4 separate regions of the Homo sapiens genome follow, and all the other regions are linked to region 4. The links are contacts of gene promoters, found by promoter capture Hi-C in blood cells and fetal thymus (Javierre and others, 2016). All regions are on one chromosome and are shown on one strand. Each heading gives the region's core, a stretch centred on a gene start or on the middle of the fragment in contact. The rest is flanking DNA. Distances are from core to core; before and after follow the strand shown.

The links. Contacts are between HindIII fragments. The CHiCAGO score rates a contact against its expected background, and 5 or more counts as called.
Region 1: a contact is called between a fragment that was not itself captured here and the fragment with the promoter of FRRS1L in region 4, in 1 of 17 cell types (activated CD4 T cells). The highest score is 5.2, in activated CD4 T cells.
Region 2: a contact is called between a fragment that was not itself captured here and the fragment with the promoter of FRRS1L in region 4, in 2 of 17 cell types (activated CD4 T cells and total CD4 T cells). The highest score is 5.9, in activated CD4 T cells.
Region 3: a contact is called between a fragment that was not itself captured here and the fragment with the promoter of FRRS1L in region 4, in 2 of 17 cell types (activated CD4 T cells and non-activated CD4 T cells). The highest score is 5.8, in activated CD4 T cells.

Annotation. Positions count from the first base shown.
Region 1 is chr9:108,941,955-108,946,532 of GRCh38, reverse strand. CTNNAL1 (catenin alpha like 1) reads left to right here. Exons shown (of 19, transcript NM_003798.4): 16 at 2,515-2,571; 17 at 2,717-2,830; 18 at 3,489-3,572; 19 at 3,699-3,956. The coding sequence ends at 3,764. It also overlaps a transcript of ABITRAM not described here. Among named protein-coding and RNA genes, the nearest start is that of ABITRAM, 9.8 kb to the right of the region's middle. The HindIII fragment of the contact is 1,034 bases long and covers 2,737-3,770 here.
Region 2 is chr9:108,965,078-108,970,016 of GRCh38, reverse strand. CTNNAL1 (catenin alpha like 1) reads left to right here. Exons shown (of 19, transcript NM_003798.4): 11 at 4,489-4,639. Among named protein-coding and RNA genes, the nearest start is that of ABITRAM, 33 kb to the right of the region's middle. The HindIII fragment of the contact is 1,773 bases long and covers 2,797-4,569 here.
Region 3 is chr9:108,990,324-108,994,845 of GRCh38, reverse strand. It overlaps CTNNAL1 (catenin alpha like 1), which reads left to right. Exons shown (of 19, transcript NM_003798.4): 3 at 2,027-2,214; 4 at 4,001-4,120. LOC105376216 (a long non-coding RNA gene) reads right to left here. Exons shown (of 7, transcript XR_007061724.1): 2 at 2,896-3,009; 3 at 2,223-2,437. It also overlaps the pseudogene RNA5-8SP3. Among named protein-coding and RNA genes, the nearest start is that of CTNNAL1, 21 kb to the left of the region's middle. The HindIII fragment of the contact is 803 bases long and covers 1,861-2,663 here.
Region 4 is chr9:109,165,091-109,170,075 of GRCh38, reverse strand. FRRS1L (ferric chelate reductase 1 like) reads left to right here and starts at 2,827. Exons shown (of 5, transcript NM_014334.4): 1 at 2,827-3,175. The coding sequence starts at 2,938. The HindIII fragment of the contact is 4,411 bases long and covers 2,575-4,985 here.

The DNA.
Region 1 (4,578 bases), core at 2,004-4,503, 220 kb after region 4:
TAAGGAGCCAGTGTTTGAATAGAGACAGTAATGAAGTGAGAGTTGGATGGATAAATGTGGGTAGAGGATTTTAGATAGCCAAAACAAGTGCAAAGCCCCGAGGTGCAGGGGTAGGGCTGGGTGTATCAGAAGAGTAAGGAGGCAATTATTGATGGGAGTGAAGTGAGCCAGAAGGAAAGGGGTAAAATATGATGTCTCTGTAGGCCATGGGAAGGACTTTTTTTTTTTTTTTTTTGAGACTTAGTCTCGCTCTGTTGTCAGGCTGGAGTGCAGTGGCACGATCTCGGCTCACTACAGCCTCCGCCTCCCGGGTTCAAGTGATTCTTCTGCCTCAGCCTCCCGAGTAGCTGGGACTACAGGTGTGCGCTACCACGCCCAGCTAATTTTTGTATTTTTAGTAGAGACAGGGTTTCACCATGTTGGCCAGGATGGTCTCGATCTCTTGACCTTGTGATTCGCCCGCCTCAGCCTCCCAAAGTGCTGGGATTACAGGCCTGAGCCACTATGCCCAGCTGATCCTATTATGTTTTAAGTAAGGTTTTTGGCTTGGCCAACAGAGTGAGTGGTAGTGCCATTTTCTGAGACAGGGAACACTGAGGGAGAACACTAGATTTAGAGGGTGGAAATCGAGCATTTTGTTTTGCACATGTTAAGTACAAAGGTCAGATAGGATATACACTTGGCCCTCCCTATCTGCAGGTTTTGCATCTGCAGATTCAACCAACTATGGATTGAAAATATTCAAAACAGTAAAAACAGTCTGGGCACAATGGCTCACTCCTGTAACCCTAGCACTTTGGGAGACCAAGCTGGGAGGATCACTTGAGTCCAGGAGTTTGAGACCAGCTGGGGCAACATAGTGAGACCTTGTCTCTACAAAAAAACAAAACAAAAAAAAAAAAAACTAGCGGGGCATGGTGGCACACACCTGTAATCCTAGCTACTCAGGCAGCTGAGGCAGGAGGATCGCTTGAGCCTGGGAGGTCAAGGCTGTAGTGAGCTGTGATCACACCACTTCACTTCACTCTGGACAACAGAGTGAGACCCTGTCTCAAAAAAAAAAAAAAAAGGAAGAAAACCAATAAAATATAACAACAGTAAAAAAAAACAAAATACATTTTAAAAGGTTAGAGTTCCAAGGGAGGGAAAACAATACAGTATAACTGCGATTTACTTAGCATTTACATTAACTTAGATATTATAATTTAGAGATGAGATGATTTAAAGTTTATGGGATGATGTGTGTAGGTTATATGCAAATACTACACTGTTTTATTTAAGGGACTTAAGCATCTACAGATTTTGGTATCCTTGGGGAGGTCTGGGAACCAATCTCCCATGGATACTGAGGGATGACTGTACAAGACTGATGTCAGGATAGTTCAGGAGTGGAGAGAGAGACCTGGGAGTTACCAGCTTTCAGGTAGTTTTAAAACCATCATACTGTATGAGACAGACATGGATTTTGTCCCCAAGGGGTTTGCAGGCTAGAAGGAAAGAGAAAATTTGCAGAATAGAAAGTGGTAACATGAAGTGATAAGGAACACTTGGGGAAGTGAATCATTTCATTTGGTTGGAGTCTAGATGTAAAGCTTACTGGTTTCCCTTTTAAAGGGAAGGTTGCAAAGTACGATTTGACCTTGAGATCATTTTATCCAGTGATAGCAAGGTGTTAAGCCTTTTGAATAGAGGGTAAAAATTAACCCTGGAATTATTGCCTCCTCCTTCTTAGTATTCTTTAATTTATTATGAAGACCTATTATTTTCATTCACAAACCACTCTCAGATTTTCCCTGTTCTCTCCATTATTACTGACGCCACCTAAAACTAAGCCTTCCTCCCTTTACTCCCCTGGCATCTCACTCTAAAATAGTCTGCAAACCATTTTAACATAATATGCTAAATACTTCTGTCTTACCTGTACAACCTTCTTTTTCACTCTACTTCTCCATCATCCTGTTCATCTCATTAAATTATAGAATTCATGGTACATGGTGAATAGTGAAAATTAATCTGAAAAAAAGTGGCAACAAAAACCAACCACCTGGATTGGTTCTCTCAAATGTCTGGTTATGGAATATGTATGGGTGACAAATTTTGTCTTGCCTAGATGGAATTGGGAAGGTCCTAACCCTTTTGACCTCATGCTTGAAAATTCATCATCCTTTTATAATTGAGCATATTTGAGATGAGCTCTAGGTCCCTTGCGTAATCTAGACATAATTTGTGTGGCTGAATATCACAGGTCTGTGTGACCCTCCAGAATAATTGGAGGTCTGGTGTAGAGAAGCCTCTCCAGGGATGGATTCTGCATCTGGTCTGTGGAAACTCCTTCTGAAAACAGTTAAACCCTTGTGCATTCCTGGTACTGGAAAAAGTTTAGGAGTTCCTGACAGACTTTTTATATCTAGGCTTTATTTTTAAAATTCTACGTAAAAATTATTAGTAAGTATATTTCTTACCAACTATCCATAGACATCAGTCTAAAATAGTGGTGTTTTCTCTTTCTACCAGGTTTTTGCTGCAGAGGGTTTAAAGCTTACTTCCAGTGTTCAAGCTTTTTCAAAACAGGTAACACATGTCTACCTACCTGGAGCTGGTGGTGGTATTATGTATAACCTACTTTGGGGGTATAATATCAATGTATAAATGTGTTTAAGGTATTAAAGATGGAGTTTTGTTGCGGGCTGTTATAACTTGTTAAATTACATTTCAGCTGAAAGACGATGACAAGCTTATGCTTCTCCTGGAAATAAACAAGCTAATTCCTCTATGCCACCAGCTCCAGACAGTAACTAAGACTTCTTTGCAGAATAAAGTATTTCTAAAGGTAAAAGAGACATATGAAAAACTTTCACACATCTATCTTTATCTGGTTAAAGCCCCTTTTTCTTCAAATAAACTGTTAGTACCCACAGAAGGGCAATTTATTTCCTTTTTTCATGCCTTGTCTACAAGAATCATTTATTATCTACTCTCATAACTGACCCCAGAGAGTAGCAGATTCACCAAATAAAGTAGTTTTTTGGACATCATTAATTCCATAGCACTGAACAGCTGCCCTTCAATTCTGAAGTCATTACCTCTGCAACTAGGACACAGGTGCCTCCGAGTCTGGTCTCCCATAATTTGTCTGAGAGAATATGGGTTTGTGCCCACAAAATAGAGTGCAAGGAATTGCAAAGGATGGGATTTAATTCCACTATTTGGAGTGTTTTGAGAAGCCCCTAAACAGCCTGCAGTAGAATGATTAATTTTCCACCCACTCTTTCTGCTGGGGTTCCATGAGATAGACATGAAATCTAGGCAGCTACCCCTGCACCTGTGTCCTGGGGCTTTGAGTCAGCTCATGTGCCTAAATCCATATCTCTTTCAAGATCCCTTAGATTTCCATATGGAGAAATTTTATCATGTTAAAACTAAATAAATGGTAAGGTCTTTTAAGTACTACTTTTAGAATATCATTTGCATGCTTTTTGTCATTGTAGGTTGACAAGTGTATTACGAAGACAAGATCCATGATGGCTCTCTTAGTCCAACTTCTTTCACTTTGTTATAAACTGCTGAAGAAGGTGAGGTAGTTTTTCTATTTTAGACTCATACTTTAAAAAATGGTTTAAAAGAAAATAGTTACTACTTAATTTTGTAATTTTTTTTTCAGAGTGAAACCAGATACTAATTGTCTTAACTCTTTCCAGCTTCAGATGGAAAATAACGGATGGGTCTCAGTTACAAATAAGGACACTATGGATAGTAAAACTTGAGAAGCTTTTGGGGTCAGATCTCTGGAACATCATGTGATGAAGCTGACATTTTTAAAAATCAAATGATCCTTTATCTTTTCAGAAATTCATCAATTTTATAAAGAAAACAATATTGAAATTTTGCTCTATTTTCTGATCATGAAACTGATTGTAAAGCTTTTTGACAACTAATAAATGTCTTGGTAATTGCTAGATTCTAATTGTAGTGTGATTTTTAAAATAGAACATTGCACTAATGTTCTTTAAAAGTCAAACCAAATATCCCAACTGTCTCAAGGACAATTTAATCCACAAGAAGCTATTTTGAATATGTGCTTAGCTTTGGCATATTTTACCTTAACTGTTTTCTTTATCATCTAGATCACTAATGTCAGCAGCAAACATACAGTAGTCTGGGTGAATGCAGGGTTTTCCTTAAACCTGTGGACTCTTCAATCCCTCTGTTTACCAAGTGTGACAAAAATCCCCTTGATGACCCTGTCCCAGATTGTCCATGCCAGCAGCAAGTTTGTTCCCTAATAAGCATTTTGTACAGCAAGGGTGGGTCTGCTGTGCTGTGTATGTCCCTCACCTACTCCCAAAAGTAAGGTAATGGAACTCCACAGAATCCTGGAACAACTCCTGGAGAGTATGAGATGGGTTTTTGGTTCTAGTTCTAGCATAGCTGGCCAGTCTGCCCTGAATATTAGCTGGGATTCTAAGCCTATCTTATAGACTTAAAAGATATTTTGAACTTTCTCAGTATTGATTGATGGAATGGAAGACAAAGACAGAATAAGGAAGCCAAGAATCTATTTAAATTCTGAATATCACA
Region 2 (4,939 bases), core at 2,434-4,933, 200 kb after region 4:
ACACAAACAAAACAATGTTATGACATTACTTACAAGATTCAATTGGGACCAGGCATGGTGGCTAACACCTGTAACCCAGCACTTTCTGAGGCTGATGTAGGAGGATCGTTTGAGTACAGGAGTTTGAGACTAGCCTGGGCAACACAGCAAGACCCTCTGTCTACAAAAAATAAAAAATAAAAACAAACAAACAAAAATTACCCATGTACAGTGGTGCTTACCTATAGTCCTAGCTACTCAGGAGGCTGAGGCAGGGGGATAGCTTTAGTCCAGGAGTTTGAAGCTGTAGTGAGCTATGATTGTGTCACTGTACACCAGGCTGGGTGACAGAGCAAGAGTCTATATCTGGGGGAAAAAAAGATCCAATCAGAAGCAAAATAACTATCTTAAATTAGGCAAATAGTACATTATAGTGTTAAAATAATAATTATGATAACCAGAATTAGCAACCACTGAAAGAATGTTCTGTTCAATGTTAAATGAAAAAAGTAGGGTACAGATTTGTATGTATACAAATTATTCCCATAATTTCATATGTATAGAGAATATATACATATGAAAATACCTATATGACAATATCCTTGTTTAGCTAGGGTTTTTTTCTGGATTTTCTATAGTAGAGGTATTCATTTGTCCTTATAATTTTCAAAAGCCTTTTTAAAACTGATTATCTCATTTAATACTGTTCCTGTCAAATTAATCTAAGGAAAATGGTTAAAGACAGAGCTTCCTCCTTTTTTTTTTTTTGAGACGGAGTCTAGCTCTGTCGCCCAGGCTGGAGTGCAGTGGCGCGATCTTGGCTCACTGCAACCTCCGCCTCCTAGGTTCAAGCGATTCTCCTGCCTCACCCTCCTGAGTAGCTGGGATTACAGGCATATGCCACCACGTCTGGCTAATTTTTTTATTTTTAGTAGAGACAGGGTTTCACCATGTTGGTCAGGCTGGTCTGAAACCCCTGACCTCATGATCCCCCCGCCTCGGCCTCCCAAAGTGCTGGGATTACAGGCGTGAGCCACTGCACCCAGCTGTTTCCTTCTTTCTTAGAGTCTAAGCTCTAAAATAACGTTTTGCAGTTGTTCTTTTGTTTATTTTTTTAAATATTATTTATATTTTAATTTATACTTTATTTATATTCATTTATTTACTGTCAGCCAAAAGGATTCCTCCTAACTTGCAATATTGGGCAGTAGAGGTTGAGTCCCTGCATCTTTGATTTATAGCTGAGAACAGTGCAAGTGACCTAGACTCAACGATGGTGTGTGCCCTCTAGGAGAATCATGTTGGATGTTGGAGGGATGATCTCATGCTCTCCTGTAGAGAACAGTGTCAAAGGCTTATCATGAAAGCAGGAACTATATGAATGAACCTCCACAATGATTATCTGCTGAACACTTTATTACAACCAAGGGATCTGTTTACTGGGAGAAACTGTGTCTTCAATATTGGCATGGGAGTCACTTTTCTTGCCTTGGCTGCAAAAGTATTCCAATAGAACTGGAGGGCTTGACTCTCCTGCCATATGCAATCAGTTGTTGCTCCTATCCTCAGGCCCTGCTTGCCATCTGGTTGCAATTTTTGGTTTATTGTTTTATTGCAGCAGAGATATTAGGAATAGCCATATTTTCTTCCCCAGGATAGTGGCAGAGCATGTTGTTAATAACCTGCATAACTTGAGAAGCTTTTTCTGTTCCCAAAGCCTTAGCTTCCACTCCTAGTCTTTGCCATCTGCCTCACAAAAGGATAATTTAAGGACATTGAGCATGCCTCTGGGATAATTTATTTCTGGATATCTCTGCTTTGGCAATGTTATTTTTATACTTCCTTTAAAATGTTAGACATACTGAGGGAACAGTTGAACAGTTTGTACACTAGTTGAGAGGAGAGCAATGCCAAAATCTAGCCTGTAGTCCATGGCAAGTTATGTGCCTGCTTTCCCTGAAGAGGGGAACCTTGTTCTTATAACACTGCCATCTGCTTGGCAAGTGCTGTGCCTGTGACACTATGCCCACCCCAGAGGGAGGAACAGCTAGCTGTAATTCATTCAAAGGTACCAACTATTAATATATTAGCTAACATGGCCCTGTAATTCATTCAAAGGTACCAACTATTAATATATTAGCTAACATGGCCCTGATCATATTAATCTTCTGTAAGTTCCCCAATGACTTTCTCACTCAGAAGAAAATCCAGTCCTTACCATCTATGCTTCTCCATTACATGGCCACTGGCCACCTTCCTCTTGCTCATGTCAGTCTGTTCCTCTGGCTTACTTGCTGTTCCTTGAACACTCCAGAAGTGTTTCTGCCCCATCCCAAATGACTTCCCCTCGATTTTCCTGTAGCTCCCTCACCTTTTCAGTGACTCTCTAACTTAAAATACTGTGACCACCTAATCCCCTCCATCATTCTCACCCTTTATTTTGATACATATTTTTATTCCCTTCTAAAATATTTTATAATTTATTTTAATTGTGTCTCTCCCACTGCTTGTTATAATGTGAGTCCCATGAAGCCAGGGACATTTATCTGTTTCATTCACAGCTGTTTCCCCAGCACCTGGAACGTGGGCACAGTGCCTACTAGTATGTAGTGGGTGAATGAATAGTCATGTTAGTTGTATACATGTGTGTGTGAATAATCCCATATAATCAACTCCATGGAACAACAACATCACTTGTTAGTAATGGGCATCTCTATCACATTATCCTATTAATTTCCCTCATAGCAGTTATCATAATTTATAGTATTTTAATTGTGTGCTTGTTTATAGTTCCAAATCTCCACTAGAGTATAAGCTTCATAATAGAGGGCTTTTATCTTCTTTTTTTATCACCTTATCCCCAGCACCTAGCATGATTTTTTCACATAGTGGATTCTCTAAAATACTACTTACTAGATGAGTATTTGATATAATATCCCCAGTCTGTGAAACAAGAAGGTAGACAGAATCAGTGCCTGTTGTCATGAATAGAAGGTGAAAGTGGTAGAAGGGAAAGGATCTGCTGTGAACATATCAAGACTGAACTCTGAATTCCTAGCTCCTGGATCTTTGTGTGTGTGTGTTTTATGTAATGGGCCATCAGGAAATTTCAGTAGGTTGGGTCTGGTCGATGGCTTCTATTTTGAGGTAGAAGCTAAAGTGTAATTTCTACTGAATGTCAGGTCAGGAGGTGTGTGAAGACTCAACCCAGCCATCCATTTTCTGCCTATATTACAATTAGCATCCATCAAGTCCTTTGTGTTAGAGAGTGATTATTATATGAAAGATAAAATGTTAGTTATTCATTAATTCATTCATGTAGTAGCTAACACTAAATAAAACCCCAAATGCCAAAATCTCAGGCTTAATATAATAGCAGTTTATTTCTCACTTGTATTAAGTCCTGATTAATGGTATGTCTTTCTCCCTCTTGGCAATCCGGTCCCCTTTCATTTTGTGCCTCGCTAGCCCTCAGGACCTCAAAGTCCCTACTGGAGCCTGTGCATTGAACCATCAGATGTGGAAGGGAGAGAGCACTGAGGGGCACGAGGGAGGTTTGGATCAGTTAGGATGGAAGTGGTGACCCACATTCAAGTGGGGACAGAACTCAGTCTCGTGGCCATATGTCTCCACCAGGGAGGCTGGGAAATGTAATCTTCCTATGTATCCAGAGGGAAGACAAACAGATTTTGATGAAAACATAGCAGTCTCTGCAACAATTTATTTATTTATTCAACACATTTATTTAGCCCATGTGGTGGTACGTAAAAGTACCAGGATGATTTCTGCCCTCTTTACAAGTGTTTTGTGAGTGGCAGTGTGATGTGATGGAAAGAGCCTGAACTTGGATCAGGTAGATCTGAGTTTAGATATCAACTCTGTGTATACTCGTAATAGGGTCTGGCACAAGTTACTGGGTATCTCGGAGCTTCAACTTTTCCAGCTGAAAAATGGAATAATGCTTATTTGGAAAAAGTAGTATTTTATTTGTATATTTTGGGGGATATTAATGTATTAATGTATCTCAAACACCAAACAGTATCTCAAGCATGTATCTACCAAGTACTCATGGGTGTGTATATATGTTACTTATTATTATCACTACCATTCCTACTATTACCACTGCTACTACCACCACCACTATTACTGCTACCTTTGCTACTCTGTATACAGTACACTTTTTGTGGTCTGAGTATAACTGTTTGAATTATTCTATGGGAACAACTTTGTTCAAACAGAGTTTTACTTGAGTGAAGAGAATTGCTCCCTGAATGCAGGTTTGTATATAATAATGCATACTATTTGTCTGCAGGTCAGATTATAAGAAACAGCAAATTTTGTCCTACTGTGCATCTTCATATTGCCCAACATGGAGCTTGTGTATAGAAATTACTTCATAGTTGTTTATTGAGTTGAATTGAACAGCAGACTTACTTACCTTTGGTCTTCAAAGTGATTCTGAGGGCTAAGATTTTGAAATTCACACAGGTGTATATTGTGTTTCTTTAGATAATTTCTGCTGCTGAAACATTGACATTGCATCCATCTAGTAAAATTGCTAAAGAAAACCTAGATGTATTTTGTGAAGCTTGGGAATCCCAAATTAGTGACATGTCAACACTGCTGAGAGAAATCAATGACGTGTTTGAAGGAAGACGAGGTGAGAAACTGTCCACATAATGAAATATGTTATTATTTTAATGTAACTCTTGTTAGTTTTTTAATGCCAAACCTCAACTGCAAATGAATTCTTGTCGTAACCCAGCTGGGTTATTTTTGTAGTAAAATATTGTTCACAAAAAAATTACAAAAATATTATTTTATCCTCCTTTATTTTAGTATCCAAGCAGTAAAGTTTGTTGTACAACAGTGTAGTAGGCCAGGTGTGGCGGCTCACACCTGTAATCCCAGCGCTTTGGGAGGCCAAGGCAGGTGGATCACTTTGAAGCCAGGAGTTCGA
Region 3 (4,522 bases), core at 1,013-3,512, 170 kb after region 4:
AACTGGCTTCTCTCAGAGAGAGAGAGCAACCCAGACAGCTGCCTCAGTTATTTTAGAACCTAAGCTTGGGAGTGACATACCACCACTTCCACCATACCAACCCTGGTATGATGTGGGAGGGGACAGACAGCACAAGGTTGTCAATAACAGTAGGTGGGGATCATGGGGAGCGATCTTGAAGGCTGGCTACCACAGAATTCCTCTATCTGTAGAGCTTCAGCTATTGTCATTATACACAAGACATCCAAGTCTGCATTACCAGTCCATGTCTTGCGACTTATCTTTGGTGTATTCCTGTGTTATTTCAAACTCCTGTTGTCTGACAGTAAAATTATCATCTCTCTTCCAATGCCCTTCGATTTTCTTTAAGCAACTTAGGTTTACAACTTTGAGGCCATTTTTTTACTCGTTCTTTCCTTCTTATCATTGGTCAGGTACTAATTTTGTGTTTTCTTAATGTTTCCCAAATCATCTTCTTAATGTTCCTATGGCTACTATACTAGTAAGGTCCCTACTATTTCACACCCACAATTGATACAATAGCCTGGCTCTAAGTCTTTCCTTTCCATTCTATTTTATGTACTCCTACTAGACTGATCTTTCTTTTTTTTTTTTGAGACCAAGTCTCACTCTGTCACCCAGGCTGAAGTGCAGTGGCGCCATCTCAGCTGACTGCAACCTCCGCTTCCCAGGTCCAAGCGATTCTCTGCCTCAGCCTCCTGAGTAGCTGGGATTACAGGCCCCTGCCACCACACCTGGCTAATTTTTGTATTTTTTTAGTAGAGACCGAGTTTCGCCATGTTGGCCAGGCTTGTCTTGAACTCCTGACCTCAGGTGATCCACCCGCCTCGGCCTCCTAAAGTGCTAGGATTACAGGTGTGAGCCACTGTGCCTGCCAGACTGATCTTTCCAAACCTTGACTTATACTTCACCCTGTGGCCTCTCCATTAAGATTCCAGTACTTTTTACTCAAGATCCTTAGCCTATGAGCTGACACATTATTGTGTGTATGTAATAGAATTGACAGGAGGGCTTTTGTAAGAAAATCAATCCATTAGGCACACAGGTATATTTAGGACTTTAAAAAATGATCTTGAACACTATAAGTTGGTTAAAGGTTTATTATTTTAAAAATCTTTTTAACAGTATGGAGGTTTGAAGAATATTGTAGCCTTGTATTATAATACAAGAATACTTGGATTGTTTTATTAGTAGATAATTACCATTACAGAAATCAAAAGTTTTGATAGCAACAGTGAAGAAGATAATTTTTCTAGAGGGTTGGGAGTTCAATTAATAGAATGGTTTATGCTGGGCATCATAAGAAGTTTATATAAATTCAAACTGTAGCCTAAATGAGGGCCAGCCTGTGGTTTGAATTCTCAGGAGGGAGGCTTTTGTTTTGTTTACTTTCCCCACCCAAAGTCCAGGCTGACTGACAGACAAACTTCCTTATTGTTTCTTTTTGCCTATTGACAGTTCTTTCCGGGCCCCCATTATATTGAAGATGTCATCCCTTGGGGCCTAAAGCCCTGTCTTTTTTCTCTCTCTGAGGATCCGTGAAAACCCAAGGGTGAAAACCCAAGGCCGTTCAGCTTGTGGAGATTGGCAGTGACCCCTGACTTCTCCCCGGCCTCGCCCCAGCCCAAGCCTTGGCACCTGCTTACTGCTCGGGTTTTAGGGTATTCTTTGGTTTTTGACTCATGGGATTTCTCTTACTGTCTTGTAGGGCAGGAGGCTTTTAGATTGTGTAGTTTGCATTACCACTGGAAACAAAAATTATGATGTTTTTCAAACTGGGTGAGGGCAAAATTTGTCACAGTTCTTAAGAGTGTGCTATTATTTTCTGGTTAGAAAGCTTCGTATGATAATCCCTACAATCGTCAAGGTGAAACCGTTTCTTGTTCCTGAAGTAAGACTCCAAAGCTGAGTTTCTCCTCATTGTGCCTTACCTTCAAGGTTAGAGAGAAGTCTAGATTTTAATTTGTATGCCTGTTTAACTTTCTCCCCTCGTCTTTCTTGTTAGGAGAAACAATTGCAGCACTTACAGACATAACCAACTTGAACCATCTGGAATCTGATGGGCAGATCACAATTTTTACAGACAAAACAGGAGTGATAAAGGCTGCAAGATTACTTCTTTCTTCAGTGACAAAAGTGTTGTTGCTGGCAGACCGAGTAGTCATTAAACAGATAATAACATCAAGAAATAAGGTACTTACCTTTCTGATGTTGCTGTATTTTTGTCTTTCTGTGTTGTTCAAAGTGCTTTTTATGACTCTTAGTGGTGGATTGCTTGGCTTGTGTGTCGATGAAGAATGCAGCTAGCTGTGGGAATTAATGTGCAATGCAGGATACATTGACACACTGATCATCTGTACGTTGAATGCACTTGTGGCCCTGGGTTCCTCCCGGGGCTATGCATGTCTGAGCGTTGCTTAAAAAAAAAAAAAAAGAAAAGTTCTTTTTAGGTTAATTGTAAGTAATTTGGCAATGCTTGTCTATTATAATTGTTTATAACTCTGTCTGTAGTTTAAAAGTAGTGTTTCTTCTATATGTGCAATTCTTAAATGATGGGTATGCTGTGCCTAAACTTTTGAATGCAAGTAATGTCTCCTCTTAGAGAATCATTATCCACTTGTTAAGGCTTATTGGTAAAAGCTTTAAATGTGTACAACATTTGGAAAGAAAAGGTGAGCACTATGATAATGTATGTAGCAGAAACCTAGTTGATAAAAATACTGAATTCTTCTGTACTTTTTTTCCCTCCCAAATCAGAGACTAACAATATATAACTTAAGACACAGTTAAATCAGTGGAAATGATAATTATCCACAACTACAAAATTTCTGTACTCAGAGTCCCTAAATGTTACTGAATAATCTCAAAACTTACAGAACAGATTTAAACTCTTCCAGTCCAGAAGTTAATCTCTCAGATGATGGTCATGCTCCATGATCATCTGGGAATCCAGGGTATGTACGATCACTTCTTGCTTTGGATAATTCCCTAGGCAAAGAGGAGAGCAGTTGGCCAGGGAAGGAGTTGTCCTAGAGGATTTGAGGATAAAACCACTTGATAAGTGTTGAATGAATCAGAAATTGGAGAGGTGGATCTGGCAGCGCTGGAGAAATACAAACAACCTTCCCCTCTTTGAAAGATGGAGGTTCTCACAGTGGTGGCAACGTGCCTTATCAGTGTTAGTCGCCTGAACTTCCTGAGCTGCCAGGGCAGATTAACATGCCAAATATTCATCATATTCTCAGGAAAAATAAGTAAACAGAGGATATCTGTGTTTTTTTTTAACTTATCTTGTTGCGACTAAAACAATCTAATAATGTTATTTTAAAGAAAAGTATTTGAAAATATGTTTCACATCTATTTACTTTGTTTCTTACATCAAGAAAACACATAACATTTTAGTCACTGGCTCTACCAGATTCACACACTCTTTATTCACCCCTGATGGCCCATTCCTGACTGAGCCAGACTAATTTTCCCACCCTTAAAGTCCCACACTTCCCTTTCGACTCTATACTCTGAAGATGATGAGGTTCCTTCTGCTTTCCTGAGAATGTTAGGGTTCCTATCATCCTGGTTCACTGAACCTTAAAGCTTGTGTGTGCTGACTTTCATCCTCACCCCTTCCCAGTTCTCTGAAGATTTGATTACTGTGGTCCTGCCCATTCCCACCTTTTAGACTTGGCTACATAAATGATCCCTTCCTTTGTATATGTAGTCATTTCTTTTATTCTTTTTCCTTTTCCTTTTCAAGTAACTCAAAATCTCATCATATAAACAAATCATTCCCCTAATAATTCTGTGCCTTGAATCTACTTCTACTTCTCTGAGCATCCCCTTGTGTGTCTTCTATCTGGCTCCTCCTCCTCAGCTTTCACCTAGAATTCAGAATTTTCCTTTTCTTCTCTCTACTCAGCCTTGACAATCTCAGTCTCTTGAGTAGCTCTCACCAAATAATGAATTATTATCTGTTTTGCAGGTTCTCGCAACTATGGAAAGACTAGAGAAAGTGAATAGCTTTCAAGAGTTTGTCCAAATATTCAGTCAATTTGGAAATGAAATGGTGGAGTTTGCACATCTGAGTGGAGATAGACAAAATGTATGTATTCATCACATTTTACAATCTTCAGATAAATACATACTTTTTAGTTTGGATGGAGGTATGATCGTTAGGATTGTTTGGACTGGTTTCTTTGCTTATTAAGTCTATAGCCTTGGTCTTGAAAGCCTTTCATAGATAAGCCAGGATAAAGTAAGTAGATCTATATGTCTTTTTTTGTACATTTATAACAGTTAATTTTGTTCCCACCTCACACACTGGGAAAGGTCATACTTGCTATCAGGGCTCAACTCAAGTACTTCTTCCTTTTATTTGGTTACTTTCTCTTTTATGAAGCTTTCCATTTGATTCCTCTACTAGGGCTCAGGCACATAAAATTGAGTCATCATATGTATTCTTATAGTATCTTGTTAGATATTTGTTATTCTTACCGTATTAGAT
Region 4 (4,985 bases), core at 1,578-4,077:
CGAATAGGTTGCTGGGCCCTGAAAAGGCATAAGGCTTGAGTGACCCATAAAAGCTATAGGTTTTCCCAAACACTGCATGTTCTCACTCATAAGTGGGAGTTGAACAGTGAGAACACATGGACACAGGGAGGGGAACATCACACACCGAGGCATGTTGTGGGGGGTGAGGCAAGGGGAGGGAGAGCATTAGGACAAATACCTAACGCATGCAGGCTTAAAACCTAGATGACGGGTTGATGGGTACAGCAAACCACCATGGCACATGTATACCTATGTAACAAACCTGTACATTTTGCACATGTATCCCAGAACTTAAAGTAAATTAAAAAAAAAGTTGAACATGGAAAAAATAATTCATAAAAAAAGCTATGGGTTTTCTCCCTAGAAAAACCCATACATCACAACATTATTCCAGCACTTTCATAAGGTCCTCATATCACCCCTGAAGCCTATCTGTGGCCCCCTGTGAGTCTACATGAGTAGAGAGAGAATTGAAATCCACAGTTTACCTGCAAACTTCATTTTAGGCTGTAGTTGTAAACCGTCCCCAAAATACCCAAATACCCCCATAAAAACAATATAGAAAGCCCACGTGGTGGTGGTTTTTTTTGTTTTGTTTTGTTTTTTTGTTTGTTTTTTGTTTGTTTTTTGAGATGGAGTCTTGCTCTGTCGCCCAGGCTAGAGTGCAGTGGCCTGATCTCGACTCACTGCAAGCTCCGCCTCCCAGGTTCACGCCATTCTCCTGCCTTAGCTTCCCGAGTAGCTGGGACTTCAGGCGCCCGACACCATGCCCGGCTAATTTTTTGTATTTTCAGTAGAGACGGGATTTCACCGTGTTGGCCAGGATGGTGTCGATCTTCTGACCTTGTGATCCGCCCGCCTCGGCCTCCCAAAGTGCTGGAGTTACAGGCGTGAGCCACCGTGCCCGGCTGCCCACGTGTTTTTATATCAGATTAATTTACTCGGAGAAGAATGGCCTGGTTTTCATTTGCCTTCTATTTGGGCACCGTTATTGTTAATTTCAGTAACCAAAATGAAGGGAATAAAAAGGAAAGTAAGAGGTAAAAGCTTGTATTCCCAAACCAGAGAATCTACACTGAAATCAAAAGTCTAATGCTTTATTTTTTTGGCTAAACTTTGGTCCATTCTAAGTTGACCATACCTTCCCTGGTGAACAGAAAGAGAAGAAAAGAAAATAAAGAAATTTTAATTTTTAAGAAAGGTTTAAGGTTTTTGTTTTTGTTTTTGTTTTTTTTTTTTTTTTTGAAGGACTACACTTTAACAGATTTTCAATCTGTTGGATCAGCTTTTTTAGAATGTTATGCATTGCCACGCTATGCTTTTTGGGAAGAAGTCTCTTGAGTTTTTAAAGTAATCATAGTTCATCTTACCTTTTTCAAATAATCTGATCTATTTTTTGTGACAACTGCTATGTTGGGGGACCTAGTGAAGCCCAAGGTTTTCATGAATTACACCTCAATTCAGCCATCAGGATTAATATGTTTAAATTCCAGTTGGACAGCCCACTGTTAGCTGATACCTAATAGAAAATACCTGACTTCTAAGTCCCCCATCATGTCTCCCCTGTTTCAACAGCACTACCCTTATCTCTCAGCCAATCAGGCCATAAAGGGTTAAGATCACTAGTTTCCTTTTGAATATTAACATTTCACAATATTGTGTACATGTGTGCATGCCACTTACAGCACTGAACCCTATTGATCCTTACCTCTATGATCTTCCCTAATCTTCATTGCATCATGTCAATGACTAATCATGAGAGATCAGGCAGTCTGACTTCTAGGTCTGCATTTGGGACCTCTATGCTTTTCTGCCTCCATAATTATTTTGTTTATGCAATAAAATAAAATAATAAAATAGGAAAAGCAGGTTAAAATGCTGGCTCTGCAACACCAGCCTGAAAGGAATTGCGTCCGCCTCTCTGATGGAAAACAGCTTAGCAATTCGAATATATCACCCCAACAACCATCATCAAAAGAGAACCCTGGGACCTGCCATAAAGCAAATGCTTGGTGTGAATCAATGGATGGCTGAGTAAATAGCCAAAAGTGAACTGCAAGCAGCAGGAATGGATTTGAGAAAAATCAACAATTCAGCATGGCCCTCAGATACGGTGTGGGCCTTCCAAGGCCTGCGCGTGCTTGCTGCAGGGAAAGAGAGTAAACCAGAAGCCTAGTTTTGAAGGGGAACAGGTTACCTACTGGCACCAGCCTCTGTTGATTACACACCGCAAGAGCCTGGAGAGGAAGCAGGTGAATCCAGTTTTCTCTGTCTCTAAACACCTCAGTTTACCTAGCTCTATTGTGGGGGTCTTGCAATTTCAAGTTCCTTCTGTGATGATCCAAGAAATAATAGGTCTAGCAAGTGCTTTATGTAAACCAAAAAGTGCCGGCACAAGGTTGAGGAGGCAGCACTGACCAGGTGTGTCCAGGGTAAACTCTCTAGAGGAGCGTTTCATAAATTGAACGTGCATTGGGATCTCCTGGGAATTTTGATGAAATGAACATCCCGCTTCATGGGTCTGGAGTGGGGCCTCAGCGATGCTAACAAGCTTCCAGGTGATGCTGATGCTGCCGGTCCGCGGACCACACTCCGGAGTAGCAAGGGGCCAGAAGGGCCAAATCTGCCTGCGTGGAGGGAAGTCGGGGAGATGGGGAGAATGGAAAGAAGGACGGTAGAAGGGAAGCTGCTAGGAAGGAGAGATCGGTGCGGGGAGGAGGGGGGTTCCAAGAAGAAGGGGGAGGCTGCGGTGCTGGAGCGAGGATGCGCAGACCGAGGCAGGGAGGCGGGGGTGCGGGAGGCTCCGCGGCTGCGCGGGCGCGTGCTGGTGGCCTCGGCGGAGGCTCAGTCCCGGCCCGCGCCCGCGGCGCCCCCGCTGCGGCCCGAGCGGCCTGGCTGCGGGATCTGTGCGCACGGATGGCGCGGCCGCCCCGGCAGCACCCGGGGGTCTGGGCGTCGCTGCTCCTGCTGCTACTGACGGGGCCCGCCGCCTGCGCAGCCAGCCCCGCGGACGACGGTGCGGGCCCGGGGGGCCGGGGACCCCGGGGACGCGCGCGGGGGGACACGGGCGCCGACGAGGCGGTGCCGCGCCACGACTCCTCCTACGGCACCTTCGCGGGGGAGTTCTACGACCTGCGCTACCTGTCGGAGGAGGGTGAGGCTGCGGGAGGGCGAGGGGTTGCGGGAGGGGAGACCGGGGGTGGGGGACCGAGGATCGGGGGAACGAGGAGAGGGGGCGAGGGAGGGGGAGGGGGTCGGAAAAGATGTCCGTGGAGGCAGCTCTTGCAGAGGCGAGGCCAGGATGGGGAGCGCAGTGCCCAGGCCTCCGCCGGCCTGGAGGAAAGGCCCAAAGAGCTGTCAATGCCTGCCGCCCGCTTTACAGATGGGGAGAGTGAGGCTGGGAGAGGGAGGGGTCATCCAAGTTCTGCAAGGCTGTGGATAGGGGTGGGTGCTGAGTCTAAGCTCCCCCAGTTCTTAGATCTGGCTTCCACCTTTGCCGCCTGGGGTTGGGTTATAGGGGAGGAGGCCGCCATCTGGCCAGGGCAGCTAGGGGGAAGCAGAAAAACCCCAACCTAAAGAGAGAGGTTGCCTTATTTCCTCCCTGTCTGTATTGACTTAAATTTGCAGTGACCAGCGCCCACCTCGTAGCATTCTGTTCCTGCTCACTGACCCGTCAGAGCTGGGTCACATCAGCCTCCCCACTCCCATCCCTCCTCTTTTATGACGCCACATATGTTATGGTCCCCTAGTGCGAGCCACCATTGTTGTGGCCTGCTGGGCCCGCAGACTGGGAGTTTGTCAGCCAAGGGCCTCCCTGTAGAGCTGCTTCAACGAGCACAAAAGCCAAGCGGATGGTGGTCAGAAGGAATGGAAACTGGCCTCTTTAAGCAACTTTGGGAAGTAGTGACTTTCCTTTTCTTCTGCTAAGAGGGATATCCAACCATCAAGCTGGGGTTTGAAGTGTTGAGTCCCAGGAGCTCATATCTGTTAGTGGATGTGTCTGTTGTTAGGATTAAGTTCAGCTGTATACAACAAGCAAACATTAATAGCTTCAACAAGATAGAAGTTTCTCTCTTACAGAAAGAAAACTAGAAATAGGTAATCCAGAACTGGTCTGGAGGCTCCTTGGTCACCAGTGTCTCTGGATCCTGCCCTTCTGTTTCTTCACAATTCTTAGCATGTAACTTCATGGTTCAAAATAACTGCTTGAGCTACAGCCATTATGTTCACATTCTAGACAGTGGGAAAAATGAAGCAGGAAGAAGGTCACTGACTACTTTATAAAGGGATTACTCGGAAGTTTCATATAACAATTTTTATACTTCTTTGGCCACAACTTAATCATATGGTTGCACATAGGTACAAAGGAGGATGTAAAATAGAGCCTATTAGCTGAGACATAATATGCCCAGTTCAAAAATCAGAATTATTGTATTAAAGAAGATGGAGAGAATGGATTTGGGGAAATGTATTAAGTAGAGGCTTAACTGCTGAATTAGAGATTTTAACATATAGTGGTTTAAATAAGCTAGTTTATTTTTCTCTCTGATAAGAGTCTGGTTGGTCTGGGGCTGGTGGGATGACTCTGTTCCGCAAGGTCATTCAGGGACCCGGGTTCTTTCCATCTTGTTGCTCTGCCATCCCCCTGAGGCTTTGTCCTCATCAGTACAGTAGAAGCCAGGTTGCATGTCCTTGTTCAAGATTGAGGGAAAGAAAAAGAGAAGTTCAGGGCAAGTAGTTACCTTTTAGGCTGGCTGCCCACATTACTGCTGTTCACATTCCTTTGGCAAAAACATAGTTACAATGACCTAGCTTCAAGGGAGACTAAGAAATGTAGTCTTCTAGCTGGAGAGCCATGTGGCGGAATCTGTCACTCTGGAAAAGAATAAATATTCCGAAGCCCGTCTGTTTCTGAAAGCATCTAATGTATCTTTACACTGTACACAGCCTAGTGCTGCCAGGTG